Regions from separate parts of the Homo sapiens genome. Here all the other regions are linked to region 3. The links are contacts of gene promoters, found by promoter capture Hi-C in human tissues and cell types (Jung and others, 2019). All regions are on one chromosome and are shown on one strand. Each heading gives the region's core, a stretch centred on a gene start or on the middle of the fragment in contact. The rest is flanking DNA. Distances are from core to core; before and after follow the strand shown. Region 1 overlaps RSPRY1 (ring finger and SPRY domain containing 1). Region 2 overlaps CFAP263 (cilia and flagella associated protein 263). Region 3 holds the start of KATNB1 (katanin regulatory subunit B1).

Region 1 (4,967 bases), core at 1,263-3,762, 540 kb after region 3:
CTAGAAACATATTTGCTTAAAAAAATACAAAAATTAGCCAGGCACAGTGGCGTGTGCCTGTAATTCCAGCTACTTGGGAGGCTGAGGTGGGAAGATCACTTGAATCCAGAAGGTGGAGGTTGCAGTGAGCCGAGATCATCCCACTACCCTCAAGCCTGGGTGACAGAGCAAGACTCTGTCTCCAAAGAAAAAAAAAAAAAAGCCTGCAGAACACCCCAAAGACCACAATCTTCTTACTGAAGATTGTGTTTAAATAGGGAAAATCTCAAGTCAACAATACTGATTTGGTAATGCATGAAGATTACACTTGCCAGCTGAAACAGAAACTACCTAAAGATGTTTCAACAAGAGTGTTTCTGTCTTTAGACTCTAAAGCCTCTGGTATTTCATTGGGGAAGGTAAGAAGGGGGTAGATTGTGAAATATTTGGTTGGAATTTTACTTTTCCCACAAAAAGAAAGGTTGTCTTGATGAGGCGTTTTTACTTGCCTCCCAGATGTCCAAAGCTATCTAACCGTAGGTTTAGGTCACACAGAGTACCATTAACTCCTGAACTGTAACTGTCAAGAAGTCTGGGAAAAGCACTGGATGATTCTGACATTTCCCTTATGCACTGAGGATCTTTAAGAAAGCACACCTTTGAAAGTAGGTATTTTTTTCTGGTTGAAAGACTATCTGAGCAGGGCATGGTGGCTCACACCTGTAATCCCAACACTCTGGGAGGCCAAGGCAGGCAGACAGCTTGAGCCCAAGAATTTGAGACCAGCCTGGGCAACATGGCGAAACCCTGTTTCTACAAAAAATACACAAATTAGCCAGAGTGGCGGCTTGGACCCTATAGTCCAGCTACTGGGAAGGGCAGTGGGAGTGAGGGGTGGGAGGATCGCCTGAGCTGGGGAGGTCGAGGCTGCAGTAAACCATGATCGCACCACTGCACTTCAGCCTAGGAGACAGAGTGAGACCTTAAAAAAAAAAAAAAAAAAAAGAGTCTCTGGAAAAACCTTCCTCTAAAAAGTTGAGAGCTTTTTTAACCTAGTAGCAGTGCATCTGTGGTCAGAAAGAATTACAGAATATAGTCCTGACCTAAAATGGTACAAAGGAGAAAAGACAAATCCTTTCAGCATTCAAATAATTTACTAAAAAATAAAATTTAGGCCTAGGATAGAGTAAGGAATTTCCGGAAGCAAATAATAGTAAAAAAGGGGAAGTAAATAATCCCTGCCTGAAATCTTAAGGATTGAAAAATTTGCCTTGGACTCCCAAAAAATACTAAGGAAGAATTGAGGTAAATGCTTATGACGGTTGCAGTACAGGGAAGAAAAACAAATGTAATATTCCGTAGTACTTGTGGTTTTCCCCCCAGGAGGCCAAATAATAGGAGATCATGTGTTATTCAAATATACACAAATCTGAAGGAAAAGGATTTTTCTATTACAGAAAACTCTCTGCTCTTAAGAAAAGCAAATAAAATATATAAGCAGCATGAATATCAACATTTTCCTTAATGATGTCTACTTTAAATGATGTCTAAAACACTCATACTGCATACTCATTTGGATACTTATTAGACCCTAATATGTATTCAATAAATATCTTAGGTGAATTTATTCTAAAATCTGTAACATAAAGTCTCTCCAAAATATTTACCATTTTGAAAAACTGAGACAACACCATTCAATAACTATATATCCAATGCTTATATGGCAGGCAGTGAGGAAAGACGGAAAAAGGTCCCTCATGCTCCTGACAAAGGGAGCTGGGGTTAGGGACAAACTTAGCTCCCTACCCAAAGACTACAGATAAAGCATCTACTAGAAGGAGGCCTCTTGTTCCATCAGTTTTCCAGTGTAAAAGGAACTTTGGTAACACTGAAGTACCTCTGTGTGAGCAAGTTTTTAGGTGACTATACAAATCAGCAATAGCAAAAGGGGACTAGAGAATCTATCTTTGCATTGTAACACATTTATGTCTTACATTATAAGCCAAAATATTGTTGGTATAAATATTCCTGCCCACACAATGAAAAGTAAACAAAAAAACCTATAAATTAAATTGATAAAGATGAAGTTAAATAAAAATTCTAATAAAAAAAGAGGAATCATGATGAAAACTGACATTATTTTGAGACAATTCAGATGATGCACCCCAAACTAAGCATACTTCCTGAATACTGCAGGAATCCCCATTCTGCATATGACATGTGAGAAGCTTGTATTGGTGCCAGGTTTCCCAGGACAGACTTCCTGGGCGAAAAAAGTATTAAGAGACCACAGTAAACTCCAATATTGTTCTAGTTTTAGGTTATGAATACCATGTTTTAGTAATCCTTAGTAATTCACTTGGTAGGTTATTAATAAGTAGCCCTTAGGCATACCTAAGTATGAACAACTATGAAGCAATAAAAACTTAAAAAAACAAACAAACAGTGCTATATTTCCCATGTGGAGGGACTGGGCAGAAACCACATCTTGAGAATCACTGCATTAAGGGAACACAAGAGCGAAAACAATTCTTCAGGAGGTAGAGGGGTAAGAAAAAACTAACACTGAACATTAAACTATGAGGTAATATACTTGCTGAGTAAGGTATTTCAAACCTTCTATTTGAGGTACATAGGACCTATGAAATTACGCCTGGAAACTATAATTTCAAGCAACAAGAAAGCTATGTGCAGAGTTCATTCCTTAACAAATTTAAGGAGTACATAAATTCCTTACTATTTCAAATGTATTCTCAGTTTTCAAAAGCTCAGAAACAAAGCGGAATGTTCTCTAAGAGGCCACCACTATTTATAAGATAACTTTTCCTGATTTAACCTTGTATATACCACACATTTATCTAAAGTTACTACTTTTACATATTTAACCAGCAACCACTCCCTTTTGGAATGGACACATTTGTATGTTTTCTCTACTCACAAAGGTTGGCAAGAAAAGGATTTCAAAAGCTGACTTACTGAATGATAAACCAAAGGGAAATATTCACTCCTTTGCACTTCTAAAAGTTGTAAAAGTCCCCTCCAAAAGGCTGTTGCCCAAGTTACGGCATTTACTACTTCGTGATTATTCTGCTTTTCAATTTTCTAATTTGAATATCAGGGAAAAAACTACCCAAATTCAATGATAACTGCCTTGAAAATGCCAAAAGCTTGAAGAGAAGCTAAATCCATAGTTTATTATCCCCAAATAATTCTTTTGAAATAGATTGCTGGTTCCACTGTGTTTCCCATTTGTGGTGACTACTGACTTTCCACTTATTTTGCAATCCTGAGACTATCACACCCCACTTTACAAGTATCCTACTAAAAAATACAGAACATTTCCTATTTATTTATTTGAGACAGGGTGTTGCTCTGTCACCCAGGCTGGAATGCAGTGGCTCACTGCATCTTCAACCTCCCAGGCTCAAGAGATTCTACCACCTCAGCCTCCCAAGTAGCTGGGACTATCTGCATGTGCCACCACGCTGGGCTAATTTTTGTATTTTTTTGTAGAGATGGGGTTTTGCCATGTTGCCCAGGCTGGTCTTGAACTCCTGGGCTCAAGTGATCCTCCCGCCTTGGCCGCCCAAAGTGTTGTGATTATAGGTGTGAGCCACCATGCCCAGCCATAACTTCCAATCTTAAGTAGTGTAATAGTGATTACTACCTTCAAGAATTCCTAACATTTTCTCCAAACTATATAGAGTGTGAAAGAAAGCTGTATTTAAAAAGATGCAAAGGGATTTCCCACTTCATTAGAACAAATTACTTCATTGTTAAGGAAAGCATATACAATTCTCAACAGACTAAATTAAGCTCACGAGGCCAGGCATGGTGGCTCACACCTGTAATCCTAGCACCTTGGGAGGCCAAGGTGGGTGGATGGCTTGTGCCCAGGAGTTTGAGACCAGCCTGGGCAACATGGCGTAACCCTGTCTTAAAAAAAGTGCAAAAATTGGCCAGGTGTGGTGGCTCGCACCTGTAGTCCCAGTTACTTGGGAGGCTGATGTGGGAGGATCACCTGAGCCTGGGAGGTAGAGGCTTCTGTGAGCCGTGATTGCACCACTGCACTCTAGCCTGAGAGACAGCATGAGACCCTGTCTCAAAAAAAAAAAAAAAAGAAAAGAAAAGAAAAAGAAAAAACAGAAAAAAAGAAATACAGAATAATTGTTTGTTAAACTCTTGACAAAACACACTTTTTTTTTTTTTAGCCTCCAGGCCCCACAGTGCTACATAACTCAGATTTGTTGTTTTTACCTGATTCACTACAGATTAACACACTATTATACAAAATGCTAAGTTTTTATTTCCCTTTGATACTTACTAAATGAAAAGTTATTTTGCTGACAAAAGCAGAAGCCCACATAGAGTATGCTGGTATACCTCCTATAATCAATAACTTGAAAATAATCACTGAGGGCCAGGCACAGTAGCTCATGCCTGTAATCCCAGCACTTTGGGAGGCCAAGGTGGGCAGATCACTTTGAGCTCAGGAGTTCAAGACCAGCCTGACCAACACGGTGAAACTCCCTCTCTACTAAAAATACAAAAATTAGCCAGGCACGGGTGGTGCTTGCCTGTAATCCCAGTTACTTGGGAGGCTGAGGCAGAAGAATTGCTTGAACCCGGGAGGCAGAGGTTGCAGTGAGCTGAGATCGCGCCATTGCACTCCAGCCTGAGGAACAAGAGGGAATCTCGGTCTCAAAAAAAAAAAAAAAAAAAAGTCACTGAGTACAGAAAAAAGCATAACATAGAAAGACATTAAATAGTAGGTTAGGGCAACATGCATCCTGGGAGATCAAATAACTCACAATCACCAGTTATAGTTTTTAAAAAGATCCACAGAATATAGGATCACAAAAACAGAAAATTCAGAGCAGTACAAAAATTACTTCGAAAGGCAGACACAGTGGCTCACGCCTGTAATCCCGGCACTTTGGGAGGCCGAGGCAGGCGGATTACAGGACGTCGGGAGTTCGACACCAGCC
Region 2 (4,411 bases), core at 681-3,180, 520 kb before region 3:
CCCATTGGTTTGAAAAGTGGATGGTTCTGGGGCTGCAAACCAAACCTTGAGCCCTAACATTCTGTCACTTATTTTAGGTCCTTTTACTTCTACTCAAGCTGGGGCTGGTATGACATTTCATGACCAAGAAGCAGAGGACACTGGTTTTGCACCATGCAAATTTTATATTGCTTTCAAATTCAAGATTATTTGGGTGTATGCTACTGTAGGGGCCTTTCCTGACAAAATGATCTTACGATTTTTTGGTCTTGTATTCCCACGGTAGTTTACATAATTTTTATTACTGTTAACATATTAGGATTAGTAATAACCCTACCTTGTCTCCAGGATCTAAAGCTTGACGTGTTGTAAAAATCTCTGGAAATGAAGGTTACCCCCCAAATTCTCCTTTTTTCTCATAACAGCCCAAGGTCCATCTCCTGATAACAAAGGATCTCAAAGAGCTTGAGATTCACCCAGTAATCCCAGCACTTTGGGAGGCCAAGGTGGGTGGACTGTTGGAGCCCAAGAGTTCAAGACCAGCCTGGGCAACACAGTGAGACCTCATCTCTATAACAATTTTTTTAAAGGTTTTTTTAAAATTTTGAAAAAGAGATTTACCTGTCCTACTCCACAGTCACCTCTCTAGATAGGCTGGACCAGACCAGTCTCATACCTTTCTCAAGAAAATATATCAGATCTTGAAACAAATAACAAAACAAAAAACAGAGATCAATCTGAGGTACTGTTAGTATACCTCCTGCCTGGCTGGTGTTAGCCTTGATAAACACGCATTTATTTATTTATTTATTTATTTATTTATTTATTTATTTATTTATTTTTTCTGAGACGGAGTCTTGCTCTGCTGCCCAGGCTGGAGTGCAGTGGCATGATCTTGGCTCACCGCAATCTCCGCCTCCCAGGCTCAAGCGATTCTCCTGCCTCAGCCTCCCGAGCAGCTGGGATTACAGGCACAAACACCTCGCCCAGCTAATTTTTGTATTTTTAGTAGAGATGGGGTTTCACCATGTTGGCCAGGCTGGTCCTCCAGCTCAGATGATCCACCCGCCTCAGCCTCCCAAAGTGCTGGGATTACAGGCATGAGCCACTGCACCTAGCCATAAACATACATTTTAAAACATGCATATACACATACACTTTCAGGGATGCAAAGAAAATCCGCATATGTGGGCAACATTTATGGTGGACCAAAGGGAGCTAGGCTGCTTCACATGGATGATTTCCATAACATCCCTGTAAGAATGTTTTTTCCCTTTCTAAGCTCTGTCTGCCAACTTACCCTCCGGCGGTTCATGTCCTCAATGTATTTCATCACTTTCTGAGTGGCCAAAATACTCCCTTTCTTCTTGGATATGGCTTTTAGAATATCTTTTTCAAACTCATGCACTTCTCTCGAAACTTCACTCCATCGAATTTCAGCCTCCTCAATGATCGCCTGGGGGAGTCAGCACAAAGAGAGAAGAACGTTTCCAGCAATCTTCAAGGATGTGTCTTCTAAGAAAACCTAAGTTCCCAGGCCTCTTTGTGTCCCAAAATATTATGTTTCTTCTTAGTCTTAGGAACATATCCTTAAGATACAAACTTGACTATATCAATGTTATTAGTTAAAAGCATTCTTCAAAAAAATAGAATCCATAAAAAGAGAGCAAACAAAAACAGGTGTCAGGTATCTATCTTTTTTTTTTTTTTTTTTTTGAGACAGAGTCTCGCTCTATTGCCCAGGCTGGAGTGCAGTGATACAATCTCACCTCATTGCAACCTCCGCCTCCTCGGTTCGAGCAATTCTCCTGCCTCAGCCTCCTGAGTAGCTGGGACTACAGGCACCTGCCACCACGCCTGGCTAATTTGTGTATTTTTAGTAGAGAAGGGGTTTCACCAAGTTGGCCCAGCTGGTCTTGAACTCCTGACCTCAGGTGATCCGCCCACCTCGGCCTCCCAAAGTGCTGGGACTACAGGCATGAGCCACCGCGCCTGGCCAAGCTATCTATCTAAATATGTATTTCCATATTTGAAATTATTTATCCATTAAAAATATCTGGAAGGATATACATCAAAACATGAATGACAGTTACATCTAGAGAGATGGATTAGTGGGGAAATAAATAGGCACTCTTATTATATTTCTGTTATTAAAAAAAAAAAAAGACTTTATATTTCCAAGCCTGAGTATTGGGGGGAAAAATGGAAAAAAAAATAAAGAAGATATTATAAAGTCAGGTATGGTGCCTGTAGTCCCAGCTGCTCAGGAGGCTGAGGCAAGAGGATTGTTGGAGGCCAGAAGTTCGAGGCTGTAGTGTGCTATGATTGCGACCGCGAATAGCCACTGCACTCCAGCCTGAGCAACGCAGTGAGGCCCCATCTCTTAAAAATAAAAAAAAAGATGTTATAAAATGAAAATATGTATTGACGTAAAGAGATGTTGTTAAGTGAAAAATACAGTTTACAAAATAACATGATACTATTTTTGGAAGAAATTCATATATGCAGGCTGGGCGCGGTGGCTCACGCCTGTAATCCCAGCACTTTGGGAGGCCGAGGCGGGCGGATCACGAGGTCAGGAGATCGAGACCATCCCGGCTAAAACGGTGAAACCCCGTCTCTACTAAAAATACAAAAAATTAGCCGGGCGTAGTGGCGGGCGCCTGTAGTCCCAGCTACTTGGGAGGCTGAGGCAGGAGAATGGCGTGAACCCGGGAGGCAGAGCTTGCAGTGAGCCGAGATCCCGCCACTGCACTCCAGCCTGGGCGACAGAGCGAGACTCCGTCTCAAAAAAAAAAAAAAAAAAAAAGAAATTCATATATGCATAGAAAATTATCTAAACTGTAGGAGGTAAATGGAAAGTCAACAGAAATTACCTCTGAGTGGTAAATTGTGAATGTTTTCAAATGTTCTTTTAGCTTAACTGTATTTTTCAACATTCTACAACATAGATTGCCTTGAAATAAGAACACACACACACACATATTACTATAAAAAATAAAATGGAATGGTATCTCTAGCCAGACTGCAAATCATCCTAGTTCAGACTTTTTTTCTGAACACCAAGAGGCAAAAGCATTTTCACTGGCCGGCCTCAGGCTCCAGCCCCATCATCTCCACATGGTAGAACATCAACCCACCTGAAATGCTACTTTCAACACATTGCTCTCCTACTCAAGTATCCTCAGTGGGGTCCAGCTTTCTAAGACATCAAAGATAAACTCCTTGGCATGGCTGTCAAGAAATCATTGCCTTACTCAACCTGACTTCCTAAAGCAGCCTCCAAAGTAGCGTCTTCTCTAATCACACCGGCCTCCTCAATGTCATGCTTGTGCCCACCTCCACTGCCTTGCCCATGTCATTCTCCTTACCTGGGGTGCCCTTCTTTCCCTGTGCTTTAAACAGATGCCATCATTCTTCAAGATCATGCCAAGTCTCTTTTAAGCCCTACCTCCTCAACAAATTCTTTTTGACCACTCTAGCCCATACTGATCTCTGATCTCTGCACTTGATGCTCACATTGCACAACCTAGCGGGTCAGGATAATGCTACCACATCCCAAGCTCCTTTAACTTGCTAGAATTCAACAATGCATGTTTAGAAAGAGAGAGAGGAGGGGTGGGAGAGCAGGATCAGTTGATGTGATACAGACGGTTGCATCAATGGGAGACATGAGTCTACTGACTGGTCCCTCTTGAGACGAGTGTGATTCTGCGAATGCCCACATTTAGAAACAGAAAAATAGAAAACTTTAGAAATAGAACAGAAGTATCTACTTTTCATACAACATGGCTCTCAAATGCAAGCCAACAACGTCATCCTGTGGGCAACCGAATTAACAGTGATGTTTCTTCTCTGGAGGAAACTGACTGTATTGGACTCACTAAGAGACACTACTATATTGTTCTGTAACAGGGCACAAACCATGGGCACGTGTGCCGTATAGAAATGCTGACCTAGGGGCCGGGCGCGATGGCTCACGCCTGTAATCCCAGCACTTTGGGAGGCTGAGGCGAGTGGATCACAAGGTCAGGAGATCGAGACCATCCTGGCTAACATGGTGAAACCCCGTCTCTACTAAAAATACAAAAAAAATTAGCTGGGTGTGGTGGCGGCAGGAGCCTGTAGTCCCAGCTACTCGGGAGGCTGAGGCAGGAGAATGGTGTGAACCTGGGAGGCGGAGCTGGGATCGCACCACTGCACTCCAGCCTGGGCAACTGAGCAAGACTCCATCCCAAAAAAAAAAAAAAAGAAAGAAATGCTGACCTAGGGACTTTTTACTCAATTCACTGACTGTGATGGTTAATATTAGGTGTCAACTTGACTGGATTCAGGGATGCCTAGATGGCTGGTAAAGTATTGTTTCTGGGTGTGACTGTGAGGGTGTTGCCAGAAGAGAATGATATTTGAGTCAGTGGACTGGGCGGGGGGA
Region 3 (4,847 bases), core at 57-2,556:
CAAATTACCCACAGCAGCAACAGCAGCAGCCTGTGCACATCTGTCACGATCCTGGATCATGGAATGTTAGGCTCGAGCCATCTCAGCTCAATACAGGGCTGCAATACAAACAAGAGGTGACGTCATGTTAGAAAATGCTTGGTAAGAGCTGTTGCTCCCTGGATCACCAAGACCACTTGATAAAGACTGACACCCACCAAAGCCACCAGAGTCAGAAGCTGCACTGCAAATTAGGTTTGGGAATCTGCAGAGGGGGCACCTCAGGTAGGGTGATTTGGAACGTAAGGAAAAAGAAACTCCTCCCAGAGGCCAGGATAATGAGCTGCAGCTCTGTTCCGGGATGCTGGCTGCCTAAAGTGCAGCAGCCGCAGTGGGGCGGAGAAGACCACGTGTCTGCAATTCACATAGATTTCCTGCGAGTCGTTGTTTTTGTCTGACGTGTGGGATGTGGGAGAGCGGAGTCAGAAGCTAAGCTTAGGGGCCTAGGAAAGGCATCCCAGAGACGGCCACTGAAGTCCTCCTTGGAAAGAATCTCGAAGACGACCCTGATGGTCCAATTCCCCAGCTCCTGGCAAGGGAACCGCTCCTGCTCCCTGCGATTCCCAAGGACAGAGCTAGGAACTAGGCCTCCAGTCTGGGCGTAAGTGGCTATGACTCTTCAACTCTAAAAGGCCTCCTCATGGAGCCTCCCACCTCCTTCCCACAGCCACTTCACCTCTTTCCCATGAGCCCGCTCCCCTCCGTCCCCTTTCTCCTGGGTCCCCGGGTCTGCCTCTCTAGTCCTCCGTTCACACCCCCTTTTCTCCCTGCCCCCTGAGTCTCCCACTTATGCACATCCTGTCTCCCGATATCCCTCACGTGGCCCCTGCCTCGCCAGACTCCCGTTACTGCCCTTTCCCATATGCTCGCGGGGTCTCCCATTCATTCATTCTCCTACTTCTCTTCTCCCTATTCATTACCTGTCCTTCTGCAGACCCCCAGCTCTGCTTCCGGCCTCCCTGGTTTTGCCCCCTCCGGCCTCCACCCCGACCCCTCTCGTCCGGGGGCGGGGGCAGGTCCCTCGGCCACGGCTGATCCTCCCAACCCTCTGCTTGCGGAGTACGGGCTCTAGCCTCCCCACGCTCAGAGCTCTCTGCCCGCAAGCCCAGCCAGCCCCGCCTGGCTCGGCCCAGCCCAGGGCCCACCGTCCCCTCGCCACCTCGTCCCCTTGCCCACTCCACCTGCAGCTGCGGCTCCGGAGGCCGAGGCTCCGCTCCAGGCGCGACCCCCACTTGCCTCCATCCCCTGCCTTGATTGGCCGCTGCTTGACAACCGACCCTCACAACAAAACCTCCGGCTCAGAGCCCCGCCCACCTTGCCTCCCGCACCAATCAGCTGCCGCGGGTGCTCCGCCTCCTGCCAGGACTGACCAATGGAAGCAGGCGCTTCTGCCGCTTTTCCTCAGTACCCGCCCTCTTTTCCTAAATAGGACTAATCAAGAGGAAGGAACGTTCAAGAGCCGCCCCTTGGCCTCTAATAAACCAATGCAAGCTGCCGTTTCCTTAGTCCCGCCTCCGTCTCAAGTTTTCCCTTTCCTCTCCGTTTCCTCCCTCGAACCTAATTTGTGTCTGAAAACTTTTGAGAGCCGCCCTCCAATGGCGGCTGCGCCAATGGCTTGAGCAACCGTCCTGGATTGACCAATCAGCGTCCGCATTATTGGAAAACTCAATTCCCAGATAGCCAATGGGAAAGGAACTTCGGGGGCAGTGTGAAGCCTCAGGCCTTCCATCTTGGAGTGGGGCAAAACCTAAGGAGGCCTTAGTCGGCATTTTGCCGAAGCTCCTCATTCTTCACTTTGCCTGCAGATGGTCCCCCGTGGCAGGAGGACTTTGTCCCTGTTCTTTGACCCGGACGCCGGCTTGAATCCCCCATGGGAGGTCTAGAAGGAAACAGCCTGATTCCGGAGCCGAGGCAGGCGCTGAACCCTGTAGCACTGCACACGCAGCCACCGCCTCGACTAATGGATGCGTGGGCAAGGGGCTGCTCCCTGAATGGCTGCAATCAGGGAATCGGAGAAAGGCCAGCTTTATTTGTGACACGTTGGGCGGGGTGGGCTCTGGGAAGCGCCGTAACCCTTCTCGACTCAGGGCCTCTCGCGTGGCCGCTTAGGAGGGACTTGGCCCCGCAGCCGCCTCTCCCTGTTGCCCAGAGGTTGTCCCAGGCACCCAGAGCCCCTCGAACCTTGCCCTTCGGCCTCCAGCCTCTCACCGCAGGTCAGGGCTCCTTGGGCTCACATAACGCCCAGTACAACCATAAGAGGTAGGAATTCCTGTTCCCATTTACAGATGAGGAAACTGAGGCCCGGGTTAAGATGCTTGCAGAAAACCACACGGTCAGAAAGTAATAGCCCCAGAATTCGAACCCTTGTTCTGAAAGCCAAAGCGTGGGGGAGTCCCCACTCTGCCTTCTGCTTCAGCCTTCTGCTTCAGATTCTCCTGCTTCAGCCTCCTGGGTAGCTGGAACCACAGGCGCCCGCCACCACGACGGGCTAAGGCTAGTTTTTATATTTTTAGTAGAGACGGGGTTTCTCCATTTTGGCCAGGCTGGTCTTGAACTCCTGACCTTAGGTGATCCACCCGCCCCAGCCTCCCGAAGTGCTGGGATTACAGGCGTGAGTCACCGCAAGACACCTTTAAAAGATTAGCAGAATAACATCGGATCAAAACTGTCTAGCCTGCAGTTCCCCTTAATTTTGTATTATAAAAAGAAAACTAAACAGAGAAAACTTTAAAAGACAATATAATGATACCACGTAGATTCCAGTACTTGTTAACAGTTTGCCATATTTGCTTCGTCTGTGTGTCTTTTCGGAACCATTTGAAAATTGTAGATATGACATTTCACCCCAACACCAAATACTGAGCATGTATCTCTTAAAAATAAGGCCCTTGGCCAGGCGCGGTGGCTCACGCCTGCAATCCCAGCACTTTGGGAGGCCAAGGCGGGCGGATCACCTGAGGTCAGGAGTCCGAGACCAACCTGGCCAACATGGTGAAACCCCGTCTCTACAAAAAAATACAAAAATTAGCCGGGCGTGGTGGCGCACGTGCCTATAATCCTAGCTACTGGGGAGGCTGAGGCAGGAGAATCACTTGAAACTGGGAAGCAGAGGTTGCGGTGAGCTGGGATGGGGCCACTGTACTCCAGCCTGGGCGACAGAGTGAGATCCATTTCAAAAAATAAAAATAAAGCCCTTATTCTACAATAACCATTGTTATCACCACTGCTAAGAAAATTTAATTCTGTAACAACCAGTCCATATTCGTATGTCCCCAGTCATCCCAAAAACCTTTTAGGACTTTTTTTTTCTAACTAAGAACCAATCAGTATTCACCACACTTGACTCTTAAGTTCTTTCCATTTCTGTCCCCAAACTTTTATTTTTATGACATCGATCTTTTGAAGAGATCAGGCCATTTACCTAGATTGTCCCACGTTAGGAATGTTTCCTTTTAGTATCATTTACCTGAATTTCCTGAAGTTCTTGTTAGATGGACGTTCTTCTTAAATGCATTTCTTCCCTTGAATTTCTTAAGTTAGGGCTAAAGGCTTGATTAGATTCATGACAACAAGCAGTCAAAAACACTCCAGAGGACACATTGTAAGTGCACAAGGTTGATGAATTTTTACAAACCGAACACACCCAGGTCAAAAAGCAGAACGTGACTAGAAACCAGAACCTCCCCTCCCAGGGCTCCATGCTCACATCCATTCACTAACCCTCACACTCCAAGAGTGACGGTTGTCCTGACTTCTAATATCACCAATTAATTTTCCTTATTTTTGTTCTTTCCATAAATGGAATAATAGAGTATGTACTTTTGTGTCTTGAATCTTTTGACATTATACTTAGGCAGTTTGACCATATCATTCCATATAGTTGTGTTGCAGTTCATTCATTTTCATTGCTCTATGATATGGTTTGGCTGTATCCCCACCCAAATCTCATCTTGTGAATTGTAGCTCCCATAATTCCCACATATTGTGGGAGGGACCCAGTGGGAGATAACTGAATCATGGGAGGGGTTTCCCACATACTGTTCTCATGGTAGTGAATTAGTCTCACGAGAGCTGATGATTTTATAAGGGATTTTCCTTTTTGCTTGGTTCTCATTCTTTCTTGTCTGCCACCATGTAAGATGTGCCTTTGGCCTTCTGCCATGATTGTGGGGCCTCCCCAGCCGTGTGGAACTGTGAGTCCATTAAACCTCTTTTTCTTTACAAATTACCCAGTCTTGAGTATGTCTTAATCAGCAGTGTGAAAACAGACTAATATACTCTATAACCTCAACATTATTGGCATTTAGACCTAGATAATTATTTGCTGTGGGGGGCTGTTCTGGGCATTGTAGAATGTTTAGCAGCATCCCTGGCCTGTATGCACTAGATGCCAGTAGCATTCTCCCTAAGCAGTTCTCCCTAAGCAGTTAAAGACAACCCAAAATATCTGAAGACCACAATTTATGTATCCATTCTGCTCTTGATGGGCATTTGGGTAACTTCCAAGTATGGTGCTATTATCAATAATGCTGCTATGAAAGTTCTAGCACATGCCTTTTAGCAGATAACTATCTATCTACATTTCGGTTGAGTTGTTCATCATTCTTACTTGATGAATGATGGATTGGAGTAGAACCTAAGAGTAGAATTGTTGGGCTTTAGTTTAGCTTTAATAGATAATGCCAAGCAGTTTTCCAAAATGGTTGTACTGATTTATACTTTCACTAGGAAGGCTATTTGGGAGTTCCAGTTGTTTCTCATCGTCACCAGTACTTTTTATTTTTTTCATACCGGAGGGTGTTGTGACA

What was found. Contacts are between HindIII fragments. The study calls those that stand out against the background at their distance.
Region 1: a fragment that was not itself captured here is called in contact with the fragment with the promoter of KATNB1 in region 3 in 1 of the 25 tissues and cell types used here (bladder).
Region 2: a contact is called between a fragment that was not itself captured here and the fragment with the promoter of KATNB1 in region 3, in 1 of the 25 tissues and cell types used here (lymphoblastoid cells).

What each region holds. Positions count from the first base shown.
Region 1 is chr16:57,188,726-57,193,692 of GRCh38, reverse strand. All of the region lies in intron 1 of RSPRY1 (ring finger and SPRY domain containing 1), which reads right to left. Among named protein-coding and RNA genes, the nearest start is that of RSPRY1, 4.9 kb to the right of the region's middle. The HindIII fragment of the contact is 4,068 bases long and covers 479-4,546 here.
Region 2 is chr16:58,255,392-58,259,802 of GRCh38, reverse strand. CFAP263 (cilia and flagella associated protein 263) reads right to left here. Exons shown (of 9, transcript NM_014157.4): 4 at 1,280-1,435. Among named protein-coding and RNA genes, the nearest start is that of CFAP263, 7.7 kb to the right of the region's middle. RefSeq lists a silencer at 1,781-1,930. The HindIII fragment of the contact is 5,304 bases long and covers 1-4,411 here.
Region 3 is chr16:57,732,229-57,737,075 of GRCh38, reverse strand. It overlaps KATNB1 (katanin regulatory subunit B1), which reads right to left and starts at 1,306. Exons shown (of 20, transcript NM_005886.3): 1 at 1,221-1,306; 2 at 1-98. It overlaps LOC107984852 (a long non-coding RNA gene), which reads left to right and starts at 432. Exons shown (of 2, transcript XR_001752221.3): 1 at 432-640; 2 at 1,469-3,247. RefSeq lists enhancers at 111-180, 1,549-1,718, 1,465-1,759, 1,739-1,848, 2,478-3,455 and a silencer at 999-1,238. The HindIII fragment of the contact is 17,781 bases long and covers 1-4,847 here.